2 separate regions of the Homo sapiens genome follow, and region 1 is linked to region 2. The links are contacts of gene promoters, found by promoter capture Hi-C in human tissues and cell types (Jung and others, 2019). All regions are on one chromosome and are shown on one strand. Each heading gives the region's core, a stretch centred on a gene start or on the middle of the fragment in contact. The rest is flanking DNA. Distances are from core to core; before and after follow the strand shown. Region 1 overlaps EFTUD2 (elongation factor Tu GTP binding domain containing 2). Region 2 holds the start of GJC1 (gap junction protein gamma 1).

Region 1 (4,787 bases), core at 1,171-3,670, 53 kb after region 2:
TCCTTTGGTGTCTGGCAAGACCACTGTCACAGGAGTGCTTTTGATGCCTACACCTCTCTGAAAGGAACAAAGAGTGGTCAAGACCTCTTCCTATGCAAGAGGGGTTCATTTTGTTTTTGGGGCTCCCCAGTTGCTAGTAAATTACACTGATGCCTCTCCTTATAGTGGGTGATTTTTATCTAGGCCTCTAGCCAGCATGACCTTGAAGATAAAATATCTTGGTGTTAGACACCATTTTTGGGGGACTTGTTTCAAATGTGAAAAGATGAAAATGAATTACTGCAAACAAAACAGTATTAAGCCTTATCAGAGAATCCAGGGTCCTAGAATCTCATCCTCTTTATACATTAGAAACAAAAACAATAGCTGAGCACCTTGAAAGTAAAAAGAAACAATCTGGGGTATTTTAGTTTTTTTTTAAAAAAGAAATATAAAAGCTATGACAGAAATAAACATTTTTTTTAAAACTCCAAACAAATACATAAATACATTATAAAATAATAACAGCTAACATTGATTGCCTATCTATCTTTACTAATTCCAAGTGCCTTTAGTTAACCATACTTATTATACTTAAAACTTCCATTAGGAAAAAGAGACAGAAATAAGAGGAGGGAAACAGAAGGGGTCAGAGATTAGAGAGAAAGATCCGGAAGGAAAGACAAAAAGAGAAACACAAAGATATAGGAACCCATTTTCAAAGAGAAGCTACTCCTAGAAAGAGGTCATCATATGGATGGACTCATCCTGCGGATTTTTAAAGGATGATGTCATTTTAAAAAAATCATGTTGAGCTTCTGCGTAACTTATAGCACAAATGCAGACATCGCCTCTTAGTACTTCTCCTATATTAGGCCAAATTTAATCTAGTCAAGAACAGGAGGGTTCCCCTCCTAACCTACAGCTTGCCTACCCAGTTCTTTTTCAAGTTATAACCCTGGAGTAACTGGGGGAAGAAGGAGATGGGATGTGAGAAGTGGAGAGAGAGGAGTAGGATATGAACTAAAATGCTATCATAAAGGCTCCTCTACATTCCCTACAAAACTATTACTGGTGGGTCTGGTGTAGGTGACAATCAGATTCCCCAAGGCATGCTTACCTCTTGCTCTGTGAAGAGGATGTCAGTATAGCACAGCTGAAAAAAAATTAACTGTTGTTACCACCTGAGTTGAGACTGCTCTCCCACAAACGAACCATCAATCACTTTCCCTCACTACCTCCCAGCTCAAGGGTTTCTTTGAGATTAAAGAGAGAGAGAGAGCAGGGTGTCCCCACAGCAATTACAGACAATGAGACCAGTGCCCTCCCAGCTGGAAATGCTCCTGGGTGTGTGGAGGGATTTTTTTATTTTTACTTTTTTGGAGACAGAGTTTTGCTCTTGTAGCCCAGGCTGGAGTGCAATGGCGCGATCTCAGCTTACTGCAACCTCCTTTGCCTCCAGGGTTTAAGAGATTCTCCTGCCTCAGCCTCCCAAGTAGCAGGGATTGCAGACGTGCGCCACCATGCTCAGCTAATTTTGTATTTTCGGTAGACACAGGGTTTCATCATGTTGGTCAGGCTGGTCTCGAACTCCTGACCTCATGTGATCCCCCCGGCTCAGCCTCCCAAAGTGCTGGGATTACAGGCGTGAGCCACCACACATGGCTGGGTTTTTCTTTTTGGTTGTGATTTTGTCTTTTTTTGAGATGGAGTCTCACTCAGTCGCCCAGACTAGAGTGTGGTGGCATAATCTTGGCTCACTGCAACCTCTACCACCCAGGTTCAAGCGATTCTCCTGCCTCAGCCCCTTGAGTAGCTGGGACTACAGGTGTGCACCACCGTGCCCACCCAGCTACATTTTGCATTTTTAGTAGAGATAGAGTTTCGCCATGTTGGCCAGGCTGGTCTCAAACTCCTGACCTCAAGTGATGCTCCTGTCCTGGCCTCCCAAAGTACTGGGATTATAGGCATGAGCCACCACTCTTTTTGAGTTGGGGGAGGTCACTAAAGACCAGGTATAGCTGAGAGATAATTTATATCAAATGCACAGAATTCTTAGTGTGGTAAAGGGAGACACATGTCAGCCTTAATGCTAAAGTGTTAAAACAATCAATCTGGCAGGGTTTGAACATTTATTGCACTGAGACTTGCAGACACAGTTGGCCTCATTCACAGGCATTTAAATTTACCATGAAAACCAGGTACAATTGTACCATATTTATAGAGCAGGCTATTAATACTATAACAGGAAAGAATAGACTATAAAAGTCAGGATATATCATAACAGAGGAGGGATCCCAAGTGCAAAATGGATCATCCAAAAATACTGCAGCTCAATATTCTCTATGCTCCCGAGAAAGTTGAAATTATTTTCTTACAGCCTATTAATAGAGATCACAATTATAAAGCTGCACTTTGGAGGCGTCATTATTTATAGAGAACAGGAAGGGTGAAGGAAGGAGGAGAGAGACATCTCTATCTGTTCTGAATGGTTCATCCTAAACCCTCAACAGAAGTTCTACTTACATCTTGGTCATAGCGCTTTCTGATTTCCGGGTGAGTCTGTTCAATTAAACAATCCACAAAACATGTCTAAAAGGGAAGAAACAGTTAACATCTGCCGACCACAGAGGAAAATTTACTGTGCCCTTCCCCCAGCTCCCAATACACCACATAATTTAGGGATAAGGAGAGAAAAAGGAGAGCAAGGAGGGTTATGGGACAGCAAATAATTAACACTGAAGCCACAGGATTATTTTCAAATAAAAGATGAAATCTTTCTTAGACAGGCATCCCTCAGGAAATGAAAACTTATAAAAATCAGAGTAAGGCTCAATTTCCCATCTTCTGTCCAGATGTAGACATAAGGCTCAGGCATGCAAGTGGCTTAGGAACAGGCTCCACCTGCTGCTTGGGAAAAGCCAGAATTTCACAGTATGACTTCGTAACAGGCATGCAGCACCCCTAGTCAGGAGGTTGAGCCTTGTGACCTCAAACCTCAACCGCTGTGACTCTAAGGGCTAAAACATGAGCAGGTACAAAAGAGAAATCCTGTTCCAAGTAGCTGAAAGTTCCGTCTTACCTTGCCATGGTGGAGATGTCCACAAAGGGTCACATTTCTGATGAGCTCTGAGTTATCCATCAGATCCGCCAAGAAACTGAAAGGACAAAGGAAAAGAGAAAAGAGAGATTGGCAAACGTTTCCAAATGAGGAGTGGTGTAAAGGTGTTTCAGGTATTTTTTGGCCAGGAACAACTTTCAGACCAACTGGAGAGTGCTCAGGCAGATGTGAATGTCTATACTTACATAGCTCTGGCTTTGGGAATGCAAGAAACTTATCCAAGAGGTAACACAATCTGTGAATGGACTATCACGGGGATTTCAATAGTAAAACAGCAAGACTAAAAAAGGAAGAAGAGGCTGGGCATGGTGGCTCATGCCTGTGATCCCAGCACTTTGGGAGGCCGAGGTGGGTGGATTACCTGAGGTCAGGAGTTCAAGACCAGCCTGGCCAACATGGTAAAACCCTGTCTCTACTAAAAATACAAAAATTAGGCCGGGAGCAGAGGCTCACGCCTGTAATCCCAACACTTTGGGAGGCCGAGGCCACCACGACCAGCTAATTTTTGCATTTTCAGCAGAGACGGGGTTTCACCATGTTGGTCAGGCAGGTCTCGAACTCCTGACCTCAGGTGATCCACCTGCCCTGGCCTCCCAAAGTGCTGGCATTACAAGCGTGAGCCACCACACCCAGCCAGGACTTCCAACATGGTGAAACCCCATCTCTACTAACAATATAAAAATTAGCTGAACGTGGTGACATGCGCCTGTAATCCCAGCTACTCAGGAGGCTGAGGCGGGAGAATCACTTGAACCTGGAAGGTGGAGGTTGTAGAGAGCTGAGATCATGCCACTGCACTCCAGCCTGGGCAACAGAGTGAGACCCCGCATCGAAAAAAAAAAAAAGAGAGAGAGAGAGCACCTAAATGATCCTACACATATATCTACCTCCTTTTGCTCTCCTTTTCAAAATAAAGAGTTGAGGGCCGGGCATGGTAGCTCACGCCTGTAATCTCAGCACTTTGGGAAACTAAGGCAGGAGAATCATTTGAGCCCAGGAGTTTGAGACCAGCTTGGGCAACATAGTGAAACAGTACAAAAAACACAAAAATTAGCCAGGCGTGGTGGTGTGTTCCTGTAGTTCCAGCTGCTCAGGAGGCTGAGGCAGACACATCTATTGAGCCTGGGAGGTCAAGGCTGCAATGAGCCATGATTGTGCCACTGCACTACAGCCTGAGCAACAAAACGAGACCTTGTCTCAAAATAACAACAACAAAAACAAAATAAAGAGCTAATATATTCCTAAAATACTCAGCAGTCTTATTGAGTCCAAACAGGCTCTGGTGGATCCAACAGTGATAACTGCAATACCCAGATCTCTCTTGAAGGCTGGCTTTCAACATCAAACTAAAGATCTGGAAGAGGAAACAGCTAACATTTGGATGAACACCAAGAGAAAAGTTAAGATTGACCCCAAATATCCCAGCAGCCACACAAGCTGAAGGAGAATTTGAGAGCTATGTACGGCCACAATTTACTAGCTATTTCAGCCAAAAGCCACCTCTTATCTCTACAAAAACATGAACCCACAGCATTCCTGCAGAGAAGCTGAGAAACCTTGTAACTTACTCCATCTCATACACCGTAACAGGTAATGTCTGCTCCATCAGAGTGAATTTCTTGGTTTTCACTGGCTTAATAATGGGTTCTAGAAGAAAAAAAAAAGGTAGTGATGTGTAGGTGGGCAT
Region 2 (4,421 bases), core at 1,358-3,857:
CCCAGCACTCTGGGAGGCCGAGGCGGGAGGATCACAAGGTCAGGAGATCGGGACCATCATGGCTAACATGGTGAAACCCCATCTCTGCTAAAACTACAAAAAAAAATTAGCCAGGCGTGGTGGCGGGTACCTGTAGTCCCAGCCACTGCACTCTAGCCTGGGCGACAGAGCAAGACTCCATCTCAAAAAAAAAAGGAAAAGGAAAAAGAAAAAAGAACACACCTCACCAATTTTGAAATGTGAACATACAACAAATAAAGCAATATTTTTTGGAACTCATCACTTTGCATTGAATTAGGCATGGAACAAACACTAAGCATTTGTTAAGAGAACGATGCTCTGGATTTAAATTATATATCCTGTATTCTAAGATCCTCATTACTCAATTGATAGGCAAGCCTGGACCTGGGGGGAAGTGGACTAATCAGAAACACAACCCTGCATTCCTTCCCTTTGGCTGACTTATACAAATATAAGAATAAAATTTAATTGACAAAGGATAACAGCATTTATAAGTAAGATTGTTATGCTGGAGATATGTTAATTAAGTCCTCTGGATTAAAGGCTAAAACTCAATTTTACCTGCATGAATTGATTACAGAGAAAATTACCAGGTCCTTTGCTCCTTTTTAAGAGAACTGTGGTAGAACTTTTTAAGAGAACTGTTTCTGGTAGAAAACAATTCTTAAGTCACACAACCTCAAAAGTTAAAAGTGCTGGCTTTTGAAGAGGTTGTTTGAAATGCTTTGGAAAAATGCACAACAGTTTAAGTAGTAAATAATATTAAGCCATTACAAATCAGGACAAATATTAACAGACCTTCCATACAACTTCTATGTATCTCTTCAATATGCCCTTTGCCTACAGCACTCTGGGCACAAAAATCTGGGGAAAACTAAGATCTGTTTATTGGAGCTTTTTACCTTCTACCCAGAAAAGTTAGTTCGTGTTTAATTCTGACATTACACAGTACTTAAGACATTCAAAGCAACTGCAGTGATACAACTCTATGCTAAGTTTTTTTTAAATCAGTAAACTTAACCCACAACTCACAATATTTTAATCAGGAGCTCTGGAAGTAAGGGTATTTTTCTGTTTTTTTCCATACCCTCTGAGGTTGAAATTTTTTTGCTCTTTTACTCTGAATAATACCTAAACCCTCTCTAGGGAGAGAAATATTTTATTCCTAAATGACATTATTAACGCATTTTTCTACAGATATTAAAGTACTGGAGATATGCTGTTTCCTGCTTATCAGGAAATTAAAATCCCTTTCATTTATGTAGTTTGATTTTTTATAGCGCTTTCACATATATTCACTTGAACGTATACACGACACAAACATATAACAAATTTAGACTTATCAGGCATACAAGATGACCCTCAGCCTGAACTTATTCAAACTTAACTTACTCGATTTCACATCGTCTTGATGCTAACAAAATTAAGCATGAGCATAATGAAATCGGTATCACTGCCAGTTCTCAATGAACAAAAAGAAAACCAAATTCGCCCATTTCGCAAAGGAAAAGTACTCCCAATCAGACAATCGCAAAAAAAAGAACAAAATCTAAACCATACATTCACGTACATCTTTTCAACTCAGAGCTCCAAACGCAGCCGCCAACCACACAACTGCCCACAATCACAGCGGTAGCGCCTACTCTTAATTTTGAAGCTAGAGACTTAAGGAAACACACACACACACAAAACAGTTCTCAAGTTTGACAAAGTGGGGGAAAAGTCATTTTAAGTAAAGACAACGAGTTAATCAGGAGGCGATGAGCCCAGTCCTTCCGCCCCGCTTTCCCGCTTCCAGCCCTCGAACGAACCCTCCTCTAACCCCCGGGAGGCAGGAGTTCCAGCGGGGAGATGCGGGAAGCCTCAGACGAGCCCGCACGCCGCCGGAGACGCAGGGATCGAGGTCGGGGAGACAAAGAGCAGCCCGCGAAGAGCCCGGGCGGCGAGGGGCGGCCCGGCTCCGCCCTGCGCCCCTAACCGCCCGGGTAGTTGTCGGCACCGCCGGGGCGCCGCCGAGTGCGCGCCGCTTCTGTCCGGGCTCCCCGACCGTCGCCCGACACCTCCGCGGCCCAGGACACCCCCGAGCCGTTTCCCTCCCGATTTGGGAGCCGCGCGCCTGGGGACAAAGAGGGAGGGTGCGCCGGGGACAGTGGCAGGACGCGGGCCGGCGACGCCCCTCCGGACTCGGCGGGAACCCCTCGGCGGCGCCCCCCTCCTTCTCCCGCTCTGGCCGCGCTCCTCCCCGGACCTCCGGAGGTTCTCCTCGGCCCCTCCCCGGGCTCCCCAAGAGTTCTCCCGCCTCCCCCTGGGACCCCGCCCCTGGCCCGCTTCTCCTCAGCCGGCCCTGCGGCCGCCCCTCACCCGGCGGCGGGTTCCCCCGGAGCCGCCTCCTCCGCCGGGCCTCGGCCCGTCCCGCCGGTCGCGGCCTCATGTGCCCCGCGTCGCCATCGCCTTCACCCTCGCCTCTCCTCCACCTCCTCCGCCGCTGCCGCCTTCGCCTCAGTCTCCAGCCGAGGCAGAAGCCGCTCCCGCCGCTGCCGCCGCCGCCGCCGCCTCCCGCTCCCGCCGCCGCGACCCGCGGGAAGGCGCCTGCGCACTGCGCGCTGCGGTGGGGGCGGGGGCGTCCCGCCGCGGCCCGGGAGCGGGGGGCGCGCGGCACGTGGCGCTCGAGTGGGAGGGGGGCGCCCCAGAACGCGCGGGAAGCGACGCGAGCGCCAACTTTCCGCGGTCGAGTCCTCGCCGCTCTCTCGGATAGTCCGGGACGCGGCGGAGGCGCGGCGCGCGTGGGAGTCACCCGCGTGGAGTCTGGACCCCGGGTGGGCGCAGACTTCGCTCCGGACAGTTCATTCTTCCAAGCTGATTTTCGGGCGAGAGTCCCCCGCCAGCCGCGCCTCAGTTTGAGCGGGCCGCTAACGGCGCCGTGGGTTCTCGCCTTACCTGGGTATCCTGGGTTGGTTTAGCGGGCCCAGAGTTGTCTTCTGCGCGCTCCGCCGAGGCCTTGGTCCATTGTAGCACGGGATGCTAATGTCTCCTCCCAGGTTCTGCTCTACAATTCCTCGAGGATCTGGCGGGCCCTGCGTGGATCTAGCTAGAGTCGGGGCTCTTAGCAGTGCTCTAGATACTTTTCAGGTCCTGAACTTCTCGGATTAGCAAGACCCTAATAGGCTATTTCCTCTTAACTCTTTGCATCCCAGCAGGATCCCATTCAGAGGACTTGGGAAAAATTTTCATGCATAGGAATCCCCAGTTTTAAAATGCCCAGTAGGAAACCGAAAATTCTCCAAATGCTTTAAGTAGAGTAAGACTTTGGGTAATAAAGGAAGGCTCAGTAAAGAGATGGGCGACCTCTGGAATGATCTCATCTGAGCATCAGAATGCCGATGGACAGGCTTTTATTATTTTGCCCTTTTGACCAGAGGGGAAATTAAGCGCTAACAAGTGAGGTTACTTGCTGCAAGTCAAACTCCCCCACCCAAAGCCAAGCCCTAAGGGGTAGCCCCAGAGTGGAAATCTTGAAGGCTAGGCATCTAATGCACTGACCAGTTTTGTGTGGCCAGTATGTTTTCCAAAAATATGAATTAGTTACCAAAATATTAAAATCCAGATTTCTGGCCTCCCTAAAAAGTCAAAAGCTGCTTACTTTGAGCTTCTCTTTTCACATGGCAGCTCCTCTTGAGTCACCTTGTCCGGGTAGGCAATGTCCCCACTCAGCTGCTTAAATCATTTCATGACCTGCTTGGCCTCGGAGCATTTAAGTACTTCTCCCTGTGATTGCTGTAGTCTGTCCCCACGCCTTATCACATTGCCTCTCTACAGATGTATTTAAAATGACAAGTGTGGGATGGGCGCGGTGGCTCACGCCTGTAATTCCAGCACTTTGGGAGGCCTAGGCAGGCGGATTGCTTGAGCCCTGGGGTTCCAGACCAGCCTGGACAATATGGCAAAACCCCCATCTCTACAAAAAATACAAAAATTAGCCGGGTGTGGTGACGCGCACCTGTGATCCTAGCTACTCCAAGCATGAGGTGGGAGGATCGCTTGAGCCCGGGAGGTCAAGGCTGCAGTAAGCTGAGATAGCGCCACTGCACTCCAGCCTGAGCGACAGAGTGAGACCCTGTCTCAAAAAAATAAGTGAAAAAAATAAAATGACCAGGGTGAAAACTCTGAAAATACCTGGAAATAATAAATAGCATGTAACTAAAATAACACAGGAAACAACATCATTGTACCTGTTGAATAAAATATTAAAATTCTCACAGCCTGCAACTGTAAACTAGTACAAATAACTTTTTTGTTTTGTTTTGTTTTGAGGGAGAGTCTCACTCTGTCGCCAGGCTGGAGTGCAGTGGGCGCCATCTAGGCTCACTGCAAGCTCCACCTCCCCGGTTCAAGCAATTCTC

The links. Contacts are between HindIII fragments. The study calls those that stand out against the background at their distance.
Region 1: a contact is called between a fragment that was not itself captured here and the fragment with the promoter of GJC1 in region 2, in 2 of the 25 tissues and cell types used here (mesendoderm cells and spleen).

What each region holds. Positions count from the first base shown.
Region 1 is chr17:44,880,588-44,885,374 of GRCh38, forward strand. It overlaps EFTUD2 (elongation factor Tu GTP binding domain containing 2), which reads right to left. Exons shown (of 28, transcript NM_004247.4): 4 at 4,669-4,747; 5 at 3,062-3,137; 6 at 2,506-2,571; 7 at 1,100-1,135; 8 at 1-57. It also overlaps the pseudogene RN7SL405P. Among named protein-coding and RNA genes, the nearest start is that of EFTUD2, 16 kb to the right of the region's middle. The HindIII fragment of the contact is 7,445 bases long and covers 1-4,787 here.
Region 2 is chr17:44,827,680-44,832,100 of GRCh38, forward strand. GJC1 (gap junction protein gamma 1) reads right to left here and starts at 2,608. Exons shown (of 3, transcript NM_005497.4): 1 at 2,383-2,608. RefSeq lists a silencer at 1,921-2,210 and enhancers at 2,266-3,239, 3,240-4,213. The HindIII fragment of the contact is 21,747 bases long and covers 1-4,421 here.